Regions from separate parts of the Homo sapiens genome. Here regions 1, 2, 4, 5, 6 and 7 are each linked to region 3. The links are contacts of gene promoters, found by promoter capture Hi-C in blood cells and fetal thymus (Javierre and others, 2016). All regions are on one chromosome and are shown on one strand. The core of a region is centred on a gene start or on the middle of the fragment in contact, and the rest is flanking DNA. Distances in the headings are between cores, read along the strand shown. Region 1 has its middle 4.5 kb from the start of LINC01690. Region 2 has its middle 13 kb from the start of LINC01690. Region 3 holds the start of LINC01548 (long intergenic non-protein coding RNA 1548). Region 4 has its middle 13 kb from the start of IFNGR2. Region 5 overlaps IFNGR2 (interferon gamma receptor 2). Region 6 has its middle 23 kb from the start of LINC01690. Region 7 overlaps LOC105377136 (a long non-coding RNA gene).

What was found. Contacts are between HindIII fragments. The CHiCAGO score rates a contact against its expected background, and 5 or more counts as called.
Region 1: a contact is called between a fragment that was not itself captured here and the fragment with the promoter of LINC01548 in region 3, in 10 of 17 cell types (M1 macrophages, M0 macrophages, M2 macrophages and 7 more). The highest score is 15.5, in M1 macrophages.
Region 2: a contact is called between a fragment that was not itself captured here and the fragment with the promoter of LINC01548 in region 3, in 10 of 17 cell types (M2 macrophages, M0 macrophages, M1 macrophages and 7 more). The highest score is 15.5, in M2 macrophages.
Region 4: a fragment that was not itself captured here is called in contact with the fragment with the promoter of LINC01548 in region 3 in 1 of 17 cell types (non-activated CD4 T cells); the score reaches 5.6 in non-activated CD4 T cells.
Region 5: a fragment that was not itself captured here is called in contact with the fragment with the promoter of LINC01548 in region 3 in 1 of 17 cell types (naive CD4 T cells); the score reaches 5.7 in naive CD4 T cells.
Region 6: a fragment that was not itself captured here is called in contact with the fragment with the promoter of LINC01548 in region 3 in 4 of 17 cell types (M0 macrophages, M2 macrophages, M1 macrophages and 1 more); the score reaches 7.0 in M0 macrophages.
Region 7: a fragment that was not itself captured here is called in contact with the fragment with the promoter of LINC01548 in region 3 in 3 of 17 cell types (M1 macrophages, M0 macrophages and M2 macrophages); the score reaches 6.9 in M1 macrophages.

What each region holds. Positions count from the first base shown.
Region 1 is chr21:32,962,023-32,964,722 of GRCh38, reverse strand. No RefSeq gene overlaps it. Among named protein-coding and RNA genes, the nearest start is that of LINC01690, 4.5 kb to the right of the region's middle. The HindIII fragment of the contact is 4,369 bases long and covers 1-2,700 here.
Region 2 is chr21:32,944,254-32,947,035 of GRCh38, reverse strand. No RefSeq gene overlaps it. Among named protein-coding and RNA genes, the nearest start is that of LINC01690, 13 kb to the left of the region's middle. The HindIII fragment of the contact is 5,112 bases long and covers 1-2,782 here.
Region 3 is chr21:33,168,880-33,171,673 of GRCh38, reverse strand. LINC01548 (long intergenic non-protein coding RNA 1548) reads left to right here and starts at 1,438. Exons shown (of 4, transcript NR_024102.1): 1 at 1,438-1,533; 2 at 1,841-1,978. RefSeq lists an enhancer at 2,157-2,226. The HindIII fragment of the contact is 7,514 bases long and covers 1-2,794 here.
Region 4 is chr21:33,388,611-33,391,706 of GRCh38, reverse strand. No RefSeq gene overlaps it. Among named protein-coding and RNA genes, the nearest start is that of IFNGR2, 13 kb to the left of the region's middle. The HindIII fragment of the contact is 1,207 bases long and covers 1,070-2,276 here.
Region 5 is chr21:33,413,317-33,416,120 of GRCh38, reverse strand. It overlaps IFNGR2 (interferon gamma receptor 2), which reads right to left. Exons shown (of 7, transcript NM_005534.4): 2 at 1,101-1,233. Among named protein-coding and RNA genes, the nearest start is that of IFNGR2, 11 kb to the right of the region's middle. The HindIII fragment of the contact is 1,333 bases long and covers 613-1,945 here.
Region 6 is chr21:32,980,756-32,983,610 of GRCh38, reverse strand. No RefSeq gene overlaps it. Among named protein-coding and RNA genes, the nearest start is that of LINC01690, 23 kb to the right of the region's middle. The HindIII fragment of the contact is 9,870 bases long and covers 1-2,855 here.
Region 7 is chr21:32,923,216-32,926,068 of GRCh38, reverse strand. The region is part of intron 4 of LOC105377136 (a long non-coding RNA gene); the gene reads right to left. Among named protein-coding and RNA genes, the nearest start is that of LINC01690, 34 kb to the left of the region's middle. The HindIII fragment of the contact is 3,884 bases long and covers 1-2,853 here.

The DNA.
Region 1 (2,700 bases), core at 96-2,595, 210 kb after region 3:
GGGCAATGTTTAGGAGAAAAGTAGATCACAAACTTTTATGCACATTATAACTGTAAATATAAATGCAGTTAGAGACATAATGGAAAGAGATGACTGAAACATTAAAGTAGTTGTATTTGGGTTGTGCCATTATTGTTACAGGAAAGGGGTCCCGATCCAGACCCCAAGAGAGGGCCCTTGGATCTCTTGAAACAAAGAATTTGGGGTGAGTCCATGGACTAAAGTGAAAGCAAGTTTATTAGGAAAGTGAAGGAATAAAAGAATGGCTACTCCATAGACAGAGCAGCCCGGAGGGCTGCTGTTGCCCATTTTATGGTTATTTCTTGATGATATGATAAACAAGGGGTGGATTATTCATGCCTCTCCTTTTAGACCATATAGCGTAACTTCCTGACATTGCCATGGCATTTGTAAACTGTCATGGCCCTGGTGGGAGTGTAGCAGTGAGGACAATTAGAGATCACTCTTGTCACCATCTTGGTTTTGGTGGGTTTTAGCCGGCTTCTTTACTGCAAACTGTCTTATCAGCAAGATCTTTATGACCTGTATCTTGTGCTGACCTCCTATCTCATCCTGTAAGTTAGAATGCCTAACCATCTGGGAATGCAGCCCAGTAGGTCTCAGCCTTATTTTACCCAGCTCCTATTCAAGATGGAGTTGCTCTGGTTCACCTGCCTCTGACGTTATGGGTGATTTCACCCCCTCCCCACCCCCTCCCACCCTGCCATTTTCCTCCTTTTTTTTTTTTTTTTTTGGGAAGACAGAGTCCTCCCTTTGTTGCTCAGGCTGTAGTGAAGTGGTGTGATCACAGCTCAATGCAGCCTTGACCTGCTGGGATCAAGCAATCCTCCCGCCTCAACCTCTGGAGTAGTGCGAGCCAGGACACCTGGCTAATTTTGTTTGTTTTTGTAGAGACGAGGTCTCACTATGTTGCCCAGGCTGGTCTTGAACTCCTGGGCTCAAGATATCCTCCTGCCTTGGCCTCCCAAAATGCTGGGATTACAGGCATGAGCACCATGTGCAGCCCACTTTACAGCTTTTTATTAATAATAATGATTTGTTAAAATTTTCTTCTCCCAAAGTGAAAACGTTTTAGGGAAGGAATAAAAGCAGGAACAGGGAGTTTGTGGTGGTTTACACCAGAGTAGCTTAACTTTTTTCACCCTTCACCTCGCTCCCATGCCCAACTCCTGACCTCATCTAAAATCCTTGCACTTCTTTAAAAAGATGCCTGGTGCCTTCCCAGGCAGGAAGCCTTTGCGCACGTGCATTGTTAAGAGGAAAATGAGACTGAATGGAGCTTGGCAACCCAATGGAGCTCTCAGAGCATGGATGTGATTTGAAGTTTGGGGAGGATATTCCCTCCCACCCAACCTCCACTTCTAGGGCATCTTAAGGATTTGGTTTCTGTATTTACGACACTGACATAAATAGTTGAGCTGATTTTATTTATTTATTTATTTATAGAGACAGGATCTCCCTCTGTCACCCAGGCTGGAGTGCCGTGGCATGATCATAGCTCACTGCAGCCTCCAATTCCTGGCTTCAAGCCATCCTCCCACTTCAGCCTCCTCAGTAGAGTAGCTGGGACTAAGATGCACTCCCCACCCCTGACTAAATTGGGCCAATTTTATTTACAAACAGACTTCATAACAGGTCAATTCTGGCATTAATTTATTTCAAATGGTAAGTTGTGAAATTAAATTCAAAACTTGTAAATGAGACACAATATTATCCCTTTTATTTCCAAAGCTATTAATTGTAACTGACACTTCACCATTCTCCACGCTTACTACTTTTTATGCTGCCTTCTTTGATGAATGTATTTATGGTGCTATAGATGGTGAGGTGAAGGGTGGATGGATGCAAATTAAAATGGGCTGTGTTTTTTAAGAGGATGTATTATCACACAAACAGGCAACCAAAAGAGTGGACTTTTTGTTAAGTTTTAGAGTTATTCAGCATTCTAGCTTCAAAGATAGCCTTAAAAAATCAATGAAACTATACTTAAGAAAGGTCAGGGTGGGTGCAAATGGAGATTTAGAGACTATGAAGATTCTTAACTTTGCCAAAGTTTTAATCAAATGTATGAGAAAGTCGTATGTCTCCCGACCTCCATCCCCACCCCCACCAGTAGCAACAGGGTTTGTCTAAGGAAAATCACTACTTCCCTGACTTGTGATTGAAAGGCCATCTTAATCCTGAGCACGCCTCTGCTATTTTTAGCCCTTTGCACAAAGCACACCAGAGCCAAAGGCTGGGGACATTACTGAGCCCCTGGGGAAGAGGCTGTTGACTTGTTATTTTCCTTTAACTCTGCCAGTCCTGTGCCTGTCGAGGTGATAGTAATCCAGTTTGACATGAGATCTTGCCCCTTCCCCCACCCCAAATTCAAGCATCATTTTGATTGCCTATGGACATACTTTGCACTTTCTAGGTTTCTTTATTTTTTGAGATGGAGTCTCGCTCTGTTGCCCAGGCTGGAGTGCAGTGGCATGACCTCGGCTCACTGCAAACTCTATCTCCCAGATTCAAGCAATTCTCCTACCTCAGCCTCCTGAGTAGCTGGGATTACAGGCGCCCACCCCCATGCCCAGCTAATTTTTGCATTTTTAGTAGAGATGGGGTTTTACCACATTGGCCAGGCTGGTCTCGAACTCCTAACCTCAGGTGATCCTTCCACCTTAGCCTCCCAAAATG
Region 2 (2,782 bases), core at 217-2,716, 220 kb after region 3:
GCTCAAGCCATCCTCCCACCTCAGCCTCCTGAGTACCTGGGACTAAGGTGTGTGCCACCACACCTAGCTAGAACAACTCACTTTGATACAAGTTCTATTATTGTCTCAATTTTACAGATACAGAAAATGAGGTCAATGAGATCACCAAGTTCACACAGTCAGTGAATGGAGCAGGAGGATTTGAATCTTACTCGAGGGATGACTCACAACCATGGGCCACATGGCCTCCCCTGCGATTTGTTGATGATAGCTGATGGAAGCCAAGATCATGGCTTCCAGATTTTCTCTTTGGAGCCAAGTCACACTTATGTGGAAGGACTGGGCTTCTTCACTCCTTCTCCTTTGAGATCTCCTTGGACCCCTTTTTCTCATTTTTTTGCACTCTTCTTCTTGAGATTCGTTTTGCTTCCCATACCTACAGCCAGCACCTGTGGCTTCCCTTGGTCTACTGGAGCCCCACTTTACTCAAAGATGTGGAGCTGGAAGTGCCTGGGAATTTGTATTCCCCCAAGGTGGGCCTGATCCTCTAACTGATGGCATGCAAGTAAGAAAAGCCCAGCTTCCTTGCTTCTACTGGGCATAACTCTGGGGTAATTTACACTCCACTGTCCCCTGCAGGATCAGGTGACAGTTGCCTTGGAGCGATTTTGCCTGAGATCATACATTTGCTCGGTTTCCTCCCTCTCCGTGTCCTGCTTCTTCACTCACTCACCTCTTTTCCCTGGGAGCTTATCTTTCATAAATGACTTGCACATGAACTTTGTCTCTGGGGCTCCTGGGAAACCCAGCCTAGGATAGAACCTACGTAAAGTACTGAGCATGGCCTAGAGCACGTAGTATGTGCTCATTAAATGGCCACTGTTCTTGGCTTTGCTGTTCTAATAATCATAGCTTATGAAGGATGCTTTTCTTTTCTCCACTAATTCTTGAGTTATGACAAAGAGGTGGGGGAAGTAGAAAACTTGAGATCAGGGGTCAGTCTTGGATTCCAACCCTGTTTGCTTCTCTTAAGAGCTATTCAGCTCTTACACCAGATAGCTGATGCTCCCATCATAAAATAACTTTCACATCTGGCCTTGAAGGTACCAGCTGATATATTTTAAAAATTTAAGAAATTTTGAGAGAAGTTAGAGGATTTAGGCCTCCAAGCAGCTAGCTTCTAATGCTTTCCCAGTCTTGCCTCCTAAAAATAAAAATCAAATATTTATTGAGAGTAAAATGTCCAAGTATTAAAAAACCTCTTATAACCACATATCAAATGATGGTCCTTGTCATACAGCAAGGCCTTTCCTAAGTGCTTTAGAGATGTTGATTAATGCAAACTTCTCAACAACTCTGTGAAGCAAGTGCTATCATCACTCCCATTTTTATGGGTCAGGGAACCAGAACAGAGAGGTTCAGTCACGTGCCCAAGTTCACCCAGGCTGGTTGTGAACTTCAGCAGCGTGGCTCCAAAGTCCATGTTCTAAACCATGAGACTATTCCACCTTCCTGTAATAGAACAGGGTGGTCTCATGAGTAGGCAATGGAAGCAGTCAAAGTCCATATCCCTTGAGCGCCTGCTATGTGCAGAGACGTCCAGTTGCCTGAAAGAACTACCATTAGCGTGCACATGTGCACACACACACAGACACATACACACACACTCACACTAACCTCCCCCCAGAGCCAGAGCCTGACATTACCACTGTCTGGTTAAGTCTCCAGGTCTCAGGTAAGGCTACCATGACTAGGTAAACCCACCTATAACCATGAATAGCTCTTGGTATTCATAACCCCAGGTATTCATGGTATTCATAACCCCAGGCATACTCATTTTGTTGCATTGCCCAGCAATTCTCCAATAAAACTATGATCTAATCTTTTCTGATAGTTTCTACTCTGTGGAAGTCAGAAAGTGTGCTGGGAGTATCTGTGTTTTGTAGCACCTCAGAGGTTTCCTCCACAGAGGAGCTCAGAAAGCCTTTGGTGGATGCGTGAATGAGGGAGAAGGGAGAGGTCCATTCAATGGTTTTCCAACTGTGTTCTGAGGAATCCTGGGGTTCCATGGAGGTCCTGCAGGTGCACCAGATCAAGAGAAAGGCCACGCAAGGGGGATGCCAGAGGTATCCTTCTCCCCATCCTGTCCTGCCTCCAGACCCCTTGCCCACCCTCTTCTCACTTCAACCAGAGAAGCTCTGCCTCAATGTTTTTCATATCTTTGTCTGCCACTCAAACAATATTTGAAAACCCCTTTTGGAAGGAAGGTTAGATGACCACAGTCTCCATGTTCTCACTGCTTAGCCTGCAATGAATGTGCTGATGCGGCCTGTGACATTCTGACCTGCCACCACCCTTGAGACCCCTGTCTTGCTCCCTGATGATGTGGGTTTTTTGTTGTGTTGTGTTGTGTTGTGTTGTAAGACAGGGTCTTGCTGTGTTGCCCTGGCTGGAGCGCAGTGGTGCAACCACAGCTCACTGCAGCCTCAACCTCCTGGGCTCAAGTGATCCCCCTACATTGGCCCCCGAGTAGCTGAGATTACAGGCACGCACCACCATGCCTGGCCAATTTTTGTATTTTTTGTCAAGACAGGGTCTGGCCATGTTGCCCTGGGTGGTCTTGAACTCCTGAACTCAAGCAATCTCACCATCCTGGCCTCCCAAAGTGCTGGGATTACAGGCATGAGCCATGGTGCCCAGTCTCCTGATGATGTTTGACACATGAGTCACGGCCCCTCCTGGGGGCTCTGGCTCTGCTAAAGTCTTCTAAACTCTCCTAAACAAATGCTGAGCCAGCTTGAGA
Region 3 (2,794 bases), core at 189-2,688:
GTTAATTAGCGCTGGAGCCCAGGAAGCCCCATCTGTTCCCAGCACTTGTGTTGCTCTGATCTCTCCATTTCCCTGACTCCCAGGCCAGGGAGAGTTCTTGTCCTCCTACCCTGCAATCCCTGGAGATGCGCTCCCCCCAACCGCAGCCCAAAGTGCCTTTTCATGGGGCTGTAAGGCAGCTGTCACGAGGTAAATCCCACTCTTTACCCCGCCAGCAGGACAGGTAGGGACAGGTGGGAGGAATACGGGAGGAAACAGCTCCCACTGGTGACTGCCGGACCCTCTCCTCGCTGGCCGCAGACCCTGGAGCCACTTCCCTACCGTATCCAGAGCAGGCCCAGCCCCCGACAAAGGGACCTTTATATGGTGGTCCTGGAATTTTAGTTGGGTTCCCGTAAATGCAGACCCTGACAAGGTCTTGGGCACAGGAGGTTTATCTGAGGGGACTCCAGGAAGCAGGAGTCAGGGAGAAGGAAGCAGGAAACAGAAGTAGACGTCATTACTGAGATTGCTGCTGGAGGCAACAGGGGTCTTGAAGGTAAGAAACATGTCCTTACGGGAGAAGCTGCCTTGGTGGGTTTGGAAAGTGTGAAGAGTTCGCAGGCGTGCTCATCATCAACTAAGTGGACAGGTGAAAGCTGGAGGGGCTCTGCAGAAGCCCTGAGTTGCACTAAAATCTGTACTAATCCAAATAGTGGGTCTAGATTCCCTCTCCTACTCAAAATGACTTTAACTCCTCCAATTTAGCAAATATTGGTTGAACATCTCCTACTGTATTTAATGGAATGTAAGAGATCATTGACTATAAGGCACGCCATTATTTTAAGAGGCTCTAAGAAAAGAGCTTCCAACTCAGCTATGACACTCTATGAAAAGTAAGACTTTCCTAGGTCAGAAGCACAGAAGTGTAAAAAGAATGTTGGTCTCGGGATGGGTACCATGTGCACTGTAGCTTAATGGGCATAGTGGGGCATTGTGACATAGAAACTGCCCTTGCTCCCAGCAGAGGAGAAAAAGCGTGTAAAGCAATGTCAGTGATAACAAGCAAAAATAGGACAGGGGAGAAAGCCAAGAGTCTTCAGACCACAAGAGAAGGAGAGATTAATTCTGGTAGGGAGGTATCAAGGAGGCCTTCCTGGATGAGGGGGTGGCATCTGAGCTGGGCTCAGGAAAAGGTGGGGCTTGAACTATTGGGGATGAAGGGAAAGGCATTCCCGGCAAGTGGGAACAGCACAGGCAAAGGCTCTGAGAGGTCCTAGAAATAAAGTTATTGCACTTCAAGGGGGTTGTAAGATTTATGGGTGAGGATAAGGAAAAAGTAGAGAATTAGAAAAGCAGTGAACTTACCCCTTTACCCAGAAATCCCCCTCCTAAGTGCATGGCCAAGAGAAATTTGCCCTCAAGTGCACCTTTTCCCTTTAGGAAAATCCACCTGGATGGACAGCAGCAGAGGGAGGAGGAGGCAGGACAGACCAGAAGAGAGACAATGAGGTTCTGAACCTAGATGTTGGCCAAGGGAGCAGAGGAGGGCAGGTGAATGGCGCTATAGGGGATACTGTAGCAGGAGGGTTGACTGGACTCAGCAACTGGGGAGGGAGTAGGCAAAAAGAGAGCCTGGGAACTTAGGACAAGAAGCAGGGTATTTTTTTTTTTTCAAGGGAGAGGTAAGCAACAATGATTTACTTGTTCTTACACATGGAACTCTCCAGGGCACTACACCTGCATTTAAATCACTTGGCTCCTGGCACATGGCTCTCCTCCCATTTCTCTTTCTGTCCACTCCCTCTTCATTTGTCCTCTGCCCTCTTCGTATGACTGTTCCTTGGGGCCCTGTCTCCAGGTCAGGAGGCCCTCGCCCTGCAATCACCCTTCCTGGGAGCCTTCACTTCACCTGTGATCTCAAGACCTCTCCCTACTGCCTGACTCGCGCCGAGCTTATGGAACATCTTCCCTTGAGGGTCGCAGTCCATTCGATGAGGTATTTTCCCCATGAAATCCCTTATCTTTGGGAACCTCTTCTTTTCCTTGTGCGTCCTATGTGGGTGGATGGAGAACCACTCTCCACGTGGTTACTCGGTCCAGAAGGGCGGCTGTCTGTACAAATGCGCCTCTTCCTTTCACTTCCTCTATCCAACCAGCTTCTTCTGCCCACCTCCCTTTCATGCTCCTTTCACGCTCCTTTCACATGCTCTTGGCTCACCGTTTTTTTCTTTAAGTTTTTAGAGACAGGGTCTCGCTCTATCACTCAGGCTAGGGTGTGCTGGCACGACCATGGCTCACTGCAGCCTTGACCTCCTGGGCTCAAGCTATCCTCCTGCCTCAGCCTCCTGAGTAGCTGGGACCACAGGCACGCACCACCATGCCTGGCTAATTTTTTATGTTTTGTAGAGACAGGGGTCTCTTTCTTGCCCAAGCTGGTCTTGAACTCCTGGCCTCAAACAATCCTCCTGCCTTGGCTTCCCAAATTGCTGGGATTGCAGGAGTTTGCCACTGCGCCTGACCTGGCTCGCCTTTTTTGCTCCTGGGCGTTGCTCTGACAACCGCAACAAGCTGTCACCTGACAGCTGTGGCAGTGGGTATCTGCTGTGGCAGGCTTTCTGTCCAAGCCTGCGGGGACTTGCTTAGCTATACTGGCTTGTGTGTAAACTTGGAAGCTCAAGGGAGGTGGCTTTCCTTGGGGGAAAACTTTGACCAATAGGGGCAGGAGCTGATGAGCTCATCTGTCTTCCATCCATGTCTTGGGTGGACAATTCTGAGGCATCTTTCACACGCTTCCTCAGGGGGTCTCCAGGGG
Region 4 (3,096 bases), core at 424-2,923, 220 kb before region 3:
ACTTGTAAACTTAAATACACAAGTTTTTTGTTTGTTTGTTTGTTTTTGCTTTTAAAGACAGGATCTCTGTTGCCCAGGCCAGAGTGCAGTGGCACAATCATATTTCACCGCAGCCTGGAACTCCTGGGGTCAAGCCATCCTCCTGTCTCAGCCTCGTGAGTAGCTGGGACTACGAATACGTGCCGCCACATGAGCTAATTTAAAAAAAAATTCTTTTAAAGATGGAGTCGTAGTATGTCGCCCAGGCTGGTCTCGAACTCCTGGCTTCACGTGATCCTCCCACTTCAGCCTCCCAAAGTGCTGGGATTACAGGCGTTAGCCACCACACCCAGCCCATAAATTTTTCTAACTTTTTTGTTGCTGTTGTCTTTATAATAGTAGTACTTGGGCCAGGCGTGGTGGCTCACGCCTGTAGTCCCAGCACTTTGGGAGGCTGAGGTGGGCAGATCACTTGAGGTCAGGAGCTCAAGACCAGCCTGGCCAACACAGTGAAACCCCGTCTCTACTAAAAATACAAAAATTAGCTGGGCATGGTGGCACACACCTGTAATCCCAGTTACTCAGGAAGCTGAGACAGGAGAATCACTTGAACCTAGGGTGGAGGTTGCAGTGAGCCAAGATGGCGCCACTGCACTCCAGCCTGGGTGACAGAGCGAGACTCCGTCTCAGGAAAAAATAAAACAAAAAGTAGTACTTGTTCATTGTCAAGGAACTATAAAATACAGAAAAGTATAAAGAAGAAAAAACAATTCCTCCATAATCTTACAATACAGAAATGGCCAAAATTCATATCCTGAAACTCCTCAATTTTTAAGCACCAGCAAAACGGCCAGAAGGCAGCATTATTTCACCCTTTCTGAGAAGTGTGTAGAAACCACACACAGGACAGGAGAGGAAGGAACCTTTTGCTTCTCCTGTGTTTCCAGATTGTATGAAAATCAGGTTGCCTATAGTTTCAGGACATTCTCTACAGGTACAGTCTTGACTTTGCAAAGCCCTGAACACGTCTTGACCAGTGATAAGAGGAGATGCCGAATGCCTCACATTCACTGTCAGCAGCCCTCAAGCTTCAGCCTTCCTTGGCCAGCTCCCGGGTATAGTGACTTCCCAGTACAGTCATGGGCACTGGGCGTAAGCCATTATGTAGAGATTATGCTACATTTTGTGAGTGTTAAATACATCGTTAATGTAATGTCCTTTCTTTTGCAGAATCTTAAACTATTGTCACTGTGAACTTTCTTTTTATCTTGGAAACCTCAAACATCATAGTGTGTGACTTCTAGTGTATCCATACAAAACAGATCCAAGCAAAGCAAACACGAATTCATGTGGGTACCTTTGTGGATGAGGGCAAGAACACAGACAGCCTAGGGGCGGTGGAGCATGTTCAGAAAGGACGCGGTGGTCTGGAATATGGTGCCTTCTCTCCCTTCCTCCCTCCTTCCCTCCCTCGCTTCTTTCATGTATTTAGCACATATTTACTTACTGAGCATCTACTCTGTGCTAGGCACTGTTCTGAGAACAACAGATAAAAACTCTGAGCTTGTGGAGCTTATGTTTTAGTGGCAGCGACAGAGAATGCCCGGTCAATCACTGAACACAGCATCTAGTATCTGGAACCATGGTGATCGTGCAATGCAGAGGACCATGAGTGGACTGCAAGTTGCATTACATCCAGTCCCAGGCGATTCTCTTGGGGTCTGCAGTAGGAGAGTCTGTCAAATCCCCTCCTTTTCCTCTGTTCTGGCATTAGTGGTAGATCCCCAGGTGGCTGGACTCTCTGTGTGGGAGGTGGGGAGCCCCTGGCAGGAACTGGGGTGGCTCCTCTGGTTGTGCTAGACAAGCACCAATCCACAGAGCTTTTCAACATCCCCAAGGCACTTGGGGGGTGTCCACTGAGTGGCAGTTTCTTCTCATCTGTCAATGGGCTGCACCCCCAACTCACAGTCCCATGACCTCCCCTGGCTTGGGGGAGCCTCCACCCTGCCTGGGCCTCCCAGTTCACGCAGTGGGGAGGGCACCATTCCTCCCAGCACAGTCCAGTCCAACACCCAGGGACCTGGGCACATCCATACATGCCTCCTAACTCATTCCCCCAGGTAGCATAGGGGCATCTAGGCAAAGGAAGCTCCAGAACCCACTTTACTCAAGACCCAGGGACATTCCTGTTTTCCAAATGAACATCACTCACATTGCCTAGGAAACAGCCTCACCTCAAAAAACATTGGCTCAAATAAAGGCAACACTACCAGATATGATATTCTAATGCTGAAGCTTGGACTTATCCAAGTATCAAAAAGAGATTCAGCCAGGTGCGGTGGCTCACACCTGTAATCCAAGCACTTTGGGAGGCCGAGGCGGGAGGATTGCTTGAGCCCAGGAGTTCAAGACCAGCATGGATAATGTGGCAAAGCCCCATGTCTCAAAAAAAAAAAAAGAAAAAATTAGAGGCCAGGCACGGTGGCTCACGCCTGTAATCCCAGCGCTTTGGGAGGCCAAGGCGAGCGGATCACCTGAGGTCAGGAATTTGAGACCAGCCTGACCAACATGAAGAAACCCCATCTCTACTAAAAATACAAAATTAGCCAGGCGTGGTGGTGCATGCCTGTAATCCAAGCTACTCAGGAGGCTGAGGCAGGAGAATTGCTTGAACCCAGAGGGCAGAGGTTGCCATGAGCTGGGATCGCTCCATTGTACCCCAGCCTGGGCAACAAGAGTGAAACTCCATCTCAAAAAAAAAAAAAAAAAAAAAAATTAACCGAGCTTGGTGGTGTGCACCTGTAGTCCCAGCTACTTGGGAGGCTGAGGCAGGAGAATCGCCCAGGCCCAGGAGTTCGAGGCTGCAGTGAGCCATGATTGCATCACCACATTCCAGCCTGGGTGATAGAGTGAGACCCTGCCCACTCCTCCGCCAAAAAAAGAGAGAGAGAGACAAACTCATTTACTTTTTTATTCCTCAAAAAATATTTACTAAGCACTTCTTAGATGCCAGGCATTGTTCTAGACACTTGAGATACATCGGTGACCAAAGTGTTGTCGCCACACTTCAACTTCAACCTACTGTAGGACTTTTCTTCCTTCCTTCCATTCTTTCTT
Region 5 (2,804 bases), core at 30-2,529, 240 kb before region 3:
GGAGGCCCAGGCGGGCAAATCACTTGAGGATGGGGCCAGGAATTTGAGACCAGCCTGGCCAACATGGCAAAACCCCATCTCTACTAAAAATATACCTATTAGCCAGCCATGGTAGCTCATGCCTGTAGTCCCAGCTACTCAGGAGGCATGAGAATCACTTGAACCCAGGAGGTGGAAGTTGCAGTGAGCTGAGATCATGCCATTGCCCTCCAGCCTGGGCGATAGAGGGAAACTCTGTTTCAAAACAACAACAACAAACAGACACACATGCACACGTGCACACACACACACACATTGGAAAACTACTATGGACATTTCCATGACTTCAAATGTCTGGTAGAATTCCTCTTTGAAAGGGCTATGCTAATTGATTCTGCAAACAGCATCAGGTGAACACATATGAACCAGTCCCATCTCACAAGCACTGGACATCATCATGTCTTTACATTTGGTTTACCAAATAGTACAAAATGACTTAGCCAATAACTTCACCTTACTCTTCAATTAACCTACTTAACAACGTAAACAAAAAATAACAAAGGATGTGGACTTTGCCCTCTTTCTATATGTATTTATATTGCAAATCAAGTGATGGCCAATTCTGCAAAAGCTTGAAGAGGCAAGAGACAGATGAAAGAGCCAGGATAATATGCAAAATGGAAAACCAGTTGAGAAACTCAGAATTCATTGTAATTAACCAAACAAATTTCTGATCAGGCCATATTTGGTCTATAAGGTTAAATCAATCCGATTTTTAAGCCCGAAGATGAAGACTAAAAGCTGCCTCCTGTTCTTCCATGGTGGAAGCCTATTTTTACAACCTTTCTCCTGAAACCAGCGAAAGAATGAACTTTCCACCAAAGCAAGAACCCGTGTGGTTAGACAGCGGAGTCCTGACTGCCAGTGTAGTTTAAGCCTTCAGATGAGTGGGAGGCTGTGAAACCTCTGTCCTCAGAGATTTTACAAGCTCCAAGAACGATGTGTTTCCCACGGGTTTGATAACAAACCCTGCACAGAGGCAGGGACTAGTATGTGGCCCCAGGGTTCCGCACGATGCCCCCACAGCTCCCAGCAAGGATCCAACAGAAATACCGGCTTACTATTTAAACTGCACTTGGTAGACAACAGGCCTCGTGCTATTGCTCAGGGCCACTGGCTCCCAACTCAGGACCTGCTCTGCGTTGTACAGGCGAATCTTCGGGTGCTGAGGAGCGGGCAGCTGGGAAAGAGGGTCTTGAGGGGGACAGAGAAAAAGAAGAGGGAGGAAGGGAGGAGAGAGAGGGAAATAATTACAAAAATGTTTCAATGTCCATTATCTAAGTCATTCATACAACTCAGTTTTTGTCAAAGTGCAGAAATGGCATTACCAGGTCCCCCTGGGCATGGCCCCACACCCCCGACTTTTGGCTACAAAGATGGCCCTACTGGTACAGGCAGCACAAAAAGAAAAGAGGCGCCTGGGGCAGCCTTTCCACCTGCAGGTCCCAGTTGTTACGAACAGGTCCTGGGCCCTGGAGTCTGGCCGGACTGGGGTCCCAGTTCTACCATTAGTAACTGCATTAGGCTCGGGGCAGGTCACTTCACCTGTCTGAGCTTGAGTTTTCTTTTTCAGGAATAAGGGGTCAATAATGATACACCCACAGGGCTGTGGCGAAGATTAACGTGGTGATCATGTGACACGCGTTAGCTTCAGATTTAGTACCAAGGAAGTGTCTGGTAAATGTCCGCAAATACGTGCACACGTGCACACACTACACACGCAAAAACACACAAACATCCTAAATCAGGTACGCAAAGCCCAAGCTGCAGGGGAGGGCAAGGAACGCCGACTTCTGGGCACCATCAGAGTTGTCGTCTCTCAAGGACCCCCAGCATCGCAATCACAGGGGTGCTGGTTAAAGTGCAGGTCCTGAGGCCCCCAGGAAATCTGCATTTTAAACAAGCTTTCCAGCTGCTTCTCACACACATTAAAGTTAGAGGACAACACGGCCCGAGCTCAGTGGCTCACACCTATAATCCCAGCACTGTGGGAGGCCAAGGAAGGCAGATCACTCGAGGTCAGGAGTTTGAGACCAGTGTGGCCAACATGGCAAAACTCTGTCTCTACTAAAAATATAAAAGTTAGCCAGGTGCGGTGGTGAGCGCCTGTAATCCCAGCTACTCAGGAGGCTGAGGCAGGAGAATCGCTTGAACCCAGGAGGCAGAGGTTGCAGGGAGCTGAGATCGCACCATTGCACTCCAGTCTGGGCGACAGAGAGAGACTCTGTCTCCAAAAAAAAAAAAAAAAAAAAAAAGGTTAGGGGGCAATAAACAGAGAAAGAATATACTCCCCCGGAAACACCACCAATATCAGAATCCCTCTCTTTGGGGTGACCTGGAAGAAACAACCACAACCTCTCCCTTCCCCAAGCAGGTACTTCACAGGGAGCCTTCGGGGACCTAGAAGAAACTGCCACAACTCCTCCCTTTCCCAAGCAGGTACTTCACAGGGAGCCCTTTGTCTTAGAAAGAAAACATAATCAAGATAAGGCTTTTGACCAAAAAGATTAATAAGAAATGCCCAGAAGGTGGAAGAAAGGTTTGAAAAACATGCTGTTCCAAAATTCAAAGCAGGAAATTCAAGCCACACATTTTCGGTAAATGCGCTCAACCTCAAAGAGATCAGCTGACAGCCTGACCACTGGCTCTTCTTCTGAAAGATGAATTGCCAAGTCTGCGGCCATTTGTTTAGTTATAGGATGCCCCTCCCCTCCACACCTATGAGCTCTGGGTGACCTTCACCCAACCAGCTAACAACACTTCTC
Region 6 (2,855 bases), core at 355-2,854, 190 kb after region 3:
AGATCTATATGTATGTATGTGCATTATATATACATATATAGGAATTGCTATATGTATGTATGTTGTATGTCTGTTTTACATATACACACAAAATACTCAAATATATATTTTTAAATTATTATTTAATAATAGTTCTAATTCTAATTCAACACTTTGGGGTTCTTTCCAGCCTTCTCCCTAATGTCTTTGTAAATCCATTCTCTGACAGTGAGCAACCTGCCTCTCACTAGCCTTGGTATATTTGCTTATTTGCTGACTCAAGTAAGTAACTTGCTTGTTTATTGTAACCAGTCTCCAAAGAGTTGCTTTCTCTGCCCCCTACCTCCATACCCTGTCCCCAATACCCTGTATCCTGGGCACCAGACATACTGTTGCAGCTGCCTTCATGCTGGGAGGGGAGGGGAGGGGAGGAGAGGGCAGGGGAGGGGGAGGAGAGGGGAGGGCCAGGGAGGGGGAGAGGAGGGGAGGGAAGAGGAGAGGAGAGAAGAGGAAAGGAGAGGAGAAACAGATGGGACCTTTATCTTTGTATAGGACTCAGGTGATAAATTAAGAAGGGGAACAGGAGGGACCTATATCCTTGTGTAGGAGTCAGGTGATAAATTTCATCTTGCTTTCGTTGGCAGAAGGAAGTTGATGGCTTTAGGTATTTTATAGGCCTTTGGATCCAACCTGGTTGTCTGTTTGCTTGGAATGACACCCCTCCCTGTATGCCCCTATGCTAGGGATCCTGGGGGACCCCAGCCATGAATTAAGACACCTGTAATCCCAGCACTTTAGGAGGCTGAGGAGGGAGGATTGCTTGAGGGCAGGAGTTCAAGACCAGCCTGGGCAATATAGTGAGAACCCCTTCTCTACAAAAACAAATAAATAAAAATTTAAAAATTAATAAATAAATATAAAAAAGACTTGGCTTCCCTGTCTCTGCTGAAATGGTGCTTTCTCCAAGTTGCTCCCTCCACCCTTGCTTTATATGGCACAGGGAGCCAGAAACGAGGTTAAAAGACAAACTGCAAACTGGCACAAATACTTGCAACATACGGGACAAAGTGATAATAATTTTAATAATGACATCGGTAGAATAATGGACAGAGGATGTGAACAAAACACATGAAAAGATGCTCAGTCTTGCTTTTAATCAACTGTACGCAAATCAAAATGAGACCCCTCCTTTATTTTTCTTCTCAGACTGCCAAAGATGACAAACACGATAATGAGATGCATTGGTGAGGGTTTGGTTGAAATACCATTTCATCTAACCTCTCTGGAGCACAGACTAGTTATATCATCTTTTAATCCAGTAACTCCATTTCTTAGGAATTTATTCAAAGGAAACAATAAGACAGACATTAGAATATGTATATTATCAATAACATACATAAGGATGCATGTTAAGATATGTATATATGTATTTATGTATGACAAAATGTCTATATTATTAATAATATACATAAGGATGTTTGTTGCATCATTGTTTATGATACCAAAAGTTGGAAAAAGCTAAATGTCCATCACTGGAAAATTAATTCAATAAATAATGATAGAATGGAATATAGTACAGTCTTTGAGAAAGCAAAGGTTGATCTTTTTGTATTAATACATAAAGTTGTGTGTATTGATATATAAAATCATATTTTGTTTTATTTATGACCAAAAAACTTCGCTTGTCTAATACTATTCGTGTGCCAGATGCTGTTGCAAATATATCACAGATATTAATGCATTTGTCCCTCAGCACGCCTTGGGGAGGGGAGGTGAGGGGAGGGAAGGGGAGGGAAGGGGAGGGAAGGCGAGAGAAGGGGAGAGAAGGGAAATACTCCAAACATAAAGTACTCCAAAGCCCATATTCTTAAACACCGCACTCTCCTGCTCATGAAAAAACAGACAAACAAATGTTTTCAAGTTTATGATCTCACTCATATGTGTGTGTATTTTGATAAAAATATACAGGATGAAGTTTCAACAGTGGTTCTTTCTAGAAGTGGAGATTCATTGACACCAATCATGTATTATCAATAAAACATAATTATGCAGCCAATGGAAAAATAAACTGTAACTTGGGGAAGCGTGAGAGTTGCTTGGTCCCCTGTCCTCTCCTCATCTAAGGATTATCCTTGGGGTGCTCCAACAGAGGCGGGTCTGACCCTGGGCCTTCCCCATGTCTGCTGGCCTTTCCTTTGCCAAGACGCAGAAACGATGTGCCTCTGGTGAGACTCACAGTGAATCCAGGAGGCTGGACCAAGAAGAATGTGACACAGGGCAGTAGCAAAAGCACCGAATTGGGAGTTAAGCAACAGGGACCCTTTTAGCCAGCTGGGTGAGTCCAGGCACATCCTTTACCTCCCTGGGAGTCAGCCCCTTATGGGAAAATGAATAAGCCTCCAGCAGCTTATGGACCTTCAGAAAGAAACTCACTGGTGAGGCTACAAAAAACATCATGTAAATAAAGCTCTGCGCATCAAGCCTGTTGCGTGGTAGGTGTTTCAAGAGTGACAGCTATTGTGTCGTCATTGTGATTCTTCTCAGTGAACTGCAGACATGAGGATGAGGGGAGATGGACCACACGAGGGCTACAGATCTGGGGTTTGTGCACTTCAGAAAATCTTCTCAACCGATAAAGTTAGTCCAGTCTCTGCATGGGCTAGGCTCAGAACTTATTTCTTGGTGAAATCTCTGCTCCCTTCTCAACTGGCTTCATAATACCATGACACTTCAGTTTCCGGAAGCACACTATCTAGCCACCTTATGATATAGGATCAAGCCAAGAAACTGGAAAGAAGCAAACAAAAATTAAAGATCTTCCTATTGTACCAAATACAATGGTTGAAATTCATGCCTGTCACAGGAAAAATATTTTG
Region 7 (2,853 bases), core at 268-2,767, 250 kb after region 3:
TGGGCTCAAAGGATCCTCCTGCCTCAGCCTCCCAAGTAGCTGGACTACAGGTGTGCACCGCAACTCCTGGCTAATTAAAAAAAGGTTTTTGTATAGTCAGGGTCTCGCTATGTTGCCCAGGCTGGTCTCAAATTCCTGGCCTCAAGTGATCCTTCCACCTTGGCTTCCCAAAGTACTGAAATTACAGGGGTAAGCTGGAGCAACCAGCTTCAATTTACTTTTTAACAATGTTTACATTGTTATAATTCTTTAAATACTGTGAATCACTGAACCATAAATACTACATTTATTTTTCCATTTCTGAACAACTTATGCTTTTCCTGAGGTTAAAAATTCCCTTTTTTACCTGACTTACTTTCTCTAATCCATATAGGTAGATATTTTGTTTTTTATAAACAAAGACAATTTTTTTTGTTTGTTTTAATCATTTGTCCCCAAACTGTGCCCTCCTCTCAATTTGTTCAAGCACAATAATTCCATCTTTTTGAAGCAGTCTCTTCTGGAACCTTCTGGATTGTTGTCCTATAAGTCTACTATGCAGTTATTATATTAGTGCAGATTTCCTTCACCTCCCTTCTATGATGGAGTCTCTGTTTCCTGGACCATACATCTTCCTCTTTTAAAATTTTACTCCTTTTTTATTTAAAAAAAAAAAACTTCCAATAGCTTTAGTATAAGGCCTGGAATGTCTGAAAACCTATTTTTTATACCCTTACATTTGATTAATAGTTTTGCTGGGTATAAAATTCTGCCTTTAGAAATATTTTTTCTTCAAATAGTGAAATATTTCTCTGTTGTCTTCCACCATATTGCTTTGGAGAAGTCCAATGACATTCTGATTGTTGATCCTTTGTATAAAGCATGTTATCTTTTTTCTCTCTGGAAACATGTAGGATCTTCTCTTTATTCTCATCATGATGAAATTTCACAATGATTTGTCTCAGTGAATAAATTTTCATCCATCCATAGTGCTAGGTACAATTGTGAAACTTGATACCTTGGGAACTTGATTCAGGAACTTGATACCTGGGAAGTTTTCATGAATTGCTTCTTTGGAAAATTGCCTTCCATTGTCTCTAAATCTACTTTCCATATTTGGATGTTTGACATTCTGGTGTGGTTCTATAAATTCATTATTTCTTCTCTCCTATTTTCCGTGTTTTTACTCTATATCCTGAGAGATTTTCTTAACTTTTTTACTTCTCCTGTTTCCAAGCACTTTTGTTTGTTCTCTGAATGTTTGTTTAAAATTAGTATCTTACACAAGCAACAAAAGCAAAAATAGACAAATGGATTGCATCAAACTAAAAAAACTTCTGCAAAGCAAAGGAAACAATTAGTGGAGTGAAGAGGCAACCTACAGATCGGGAGAAAATATCTTCAAATTACACATTGCATAAGGAGCTAACATCCAAAATATACAAAGAACTCGAACTACTGAAAAACAAGAAAACAAATAACCCCTTTAAAAAATGGCCAAAGACAAATAGACATTTCTCGAAAGAAGACATACAATGAGCAAAAGATATATGAAAAATGCTCAACATCTCTAATCATTAGAGAAATGAAAATTAAAACCACAATGAGATATTACCTTATACATGTTCAACTGGCTATTAGCAAAAAGTTGAAAGATAAGTATTGGCGAGGATATGGAGAAAAGGAACCCTTGTATATTGCTGGCAGGAATGTAAATTAGTACAGTTATTATGGAAAACAGTATGGAGGTTCCTGAAAAAACTAAAAATAGAATTATCATATGATCCAGCAACCCCACTTCTGGGTATATATCCAAAGGAACTGAAGTCAGTATGTTAAAGAGATGTCTGCACTTCCATGTTCACTGCAGCATTCTTCACAATAGCCAAGATATGGAAACAACCAAAGTGCCTGATATAAAAAATATTTTATACACACACACGCACACACAAATGCAATACTACTCAGCCTTAAAAAAAAGAAGGGGACATCTGTCATTTACTACAACATAGATGAACCTGGAGGACATTTGGCTAAGTTCGAGAGAACTGGTTTGGAGCAGAAACACCACATGATCTTATTTATATGTTGAATCTTAAAAAGTCAAATTCATGAAAACAGGGAGAAGAATGGCGATTGTCAGATGCTGGGGCAGGGGAGAAAAGGAGAATGGAGAAAGGGGAGATACTGGTCAAAGGGTACAAAGACAGGAGAAATAGGTTCTGGTTATCTGTTGCATAGCATGGTGACTATAGTTAATATACATTATATTTAAGAATAGGAAACAGAGTAGATTTTAAATGTTCTCACCACAAAGAAATGATAACTATTTGAGGTGATGAATATGTTAATTAGCTTGAACTGATCACTTCACAATGTATACATGTACTGAAACATCACCTTGTAGCTCATAAAATAAATACAATTATCATTTGTCAATTAAAAATAAAATTAGTATCTTATTCTTATTCCATGGATGCAATAGCTTATTCTTAGAATAGTAATGATTAATAATTTTTAAACATTTCTTCTCCCTTCATAGCTTCTATAACTTATGTTAGCTCTGAGTTACTTTCCACCTTTCTCTGGTTCTGCCTTAGAGGCTGTTCTCAAATACCAAATGGTCTTTAACTATCTCCCCGTATTGAATAATGGGTCACTAACAGCTGATGGTAAGCTCTGTGCATTTACATGGGGCTTGTCTGGGCTTCAGCACAGTGACCTGCTTGGGCCGTTTCCCTGGGGAATCTTGGATGGCAGTATGTATGACTCTTTCCTCTCATACTATTGGAAGAGCTGCAGTGAAGGCTTCACGGCTCTCCCATGGAAGCTATAGTCCTTATTACCATTATTCTGGAAACATGATCAGGAAAA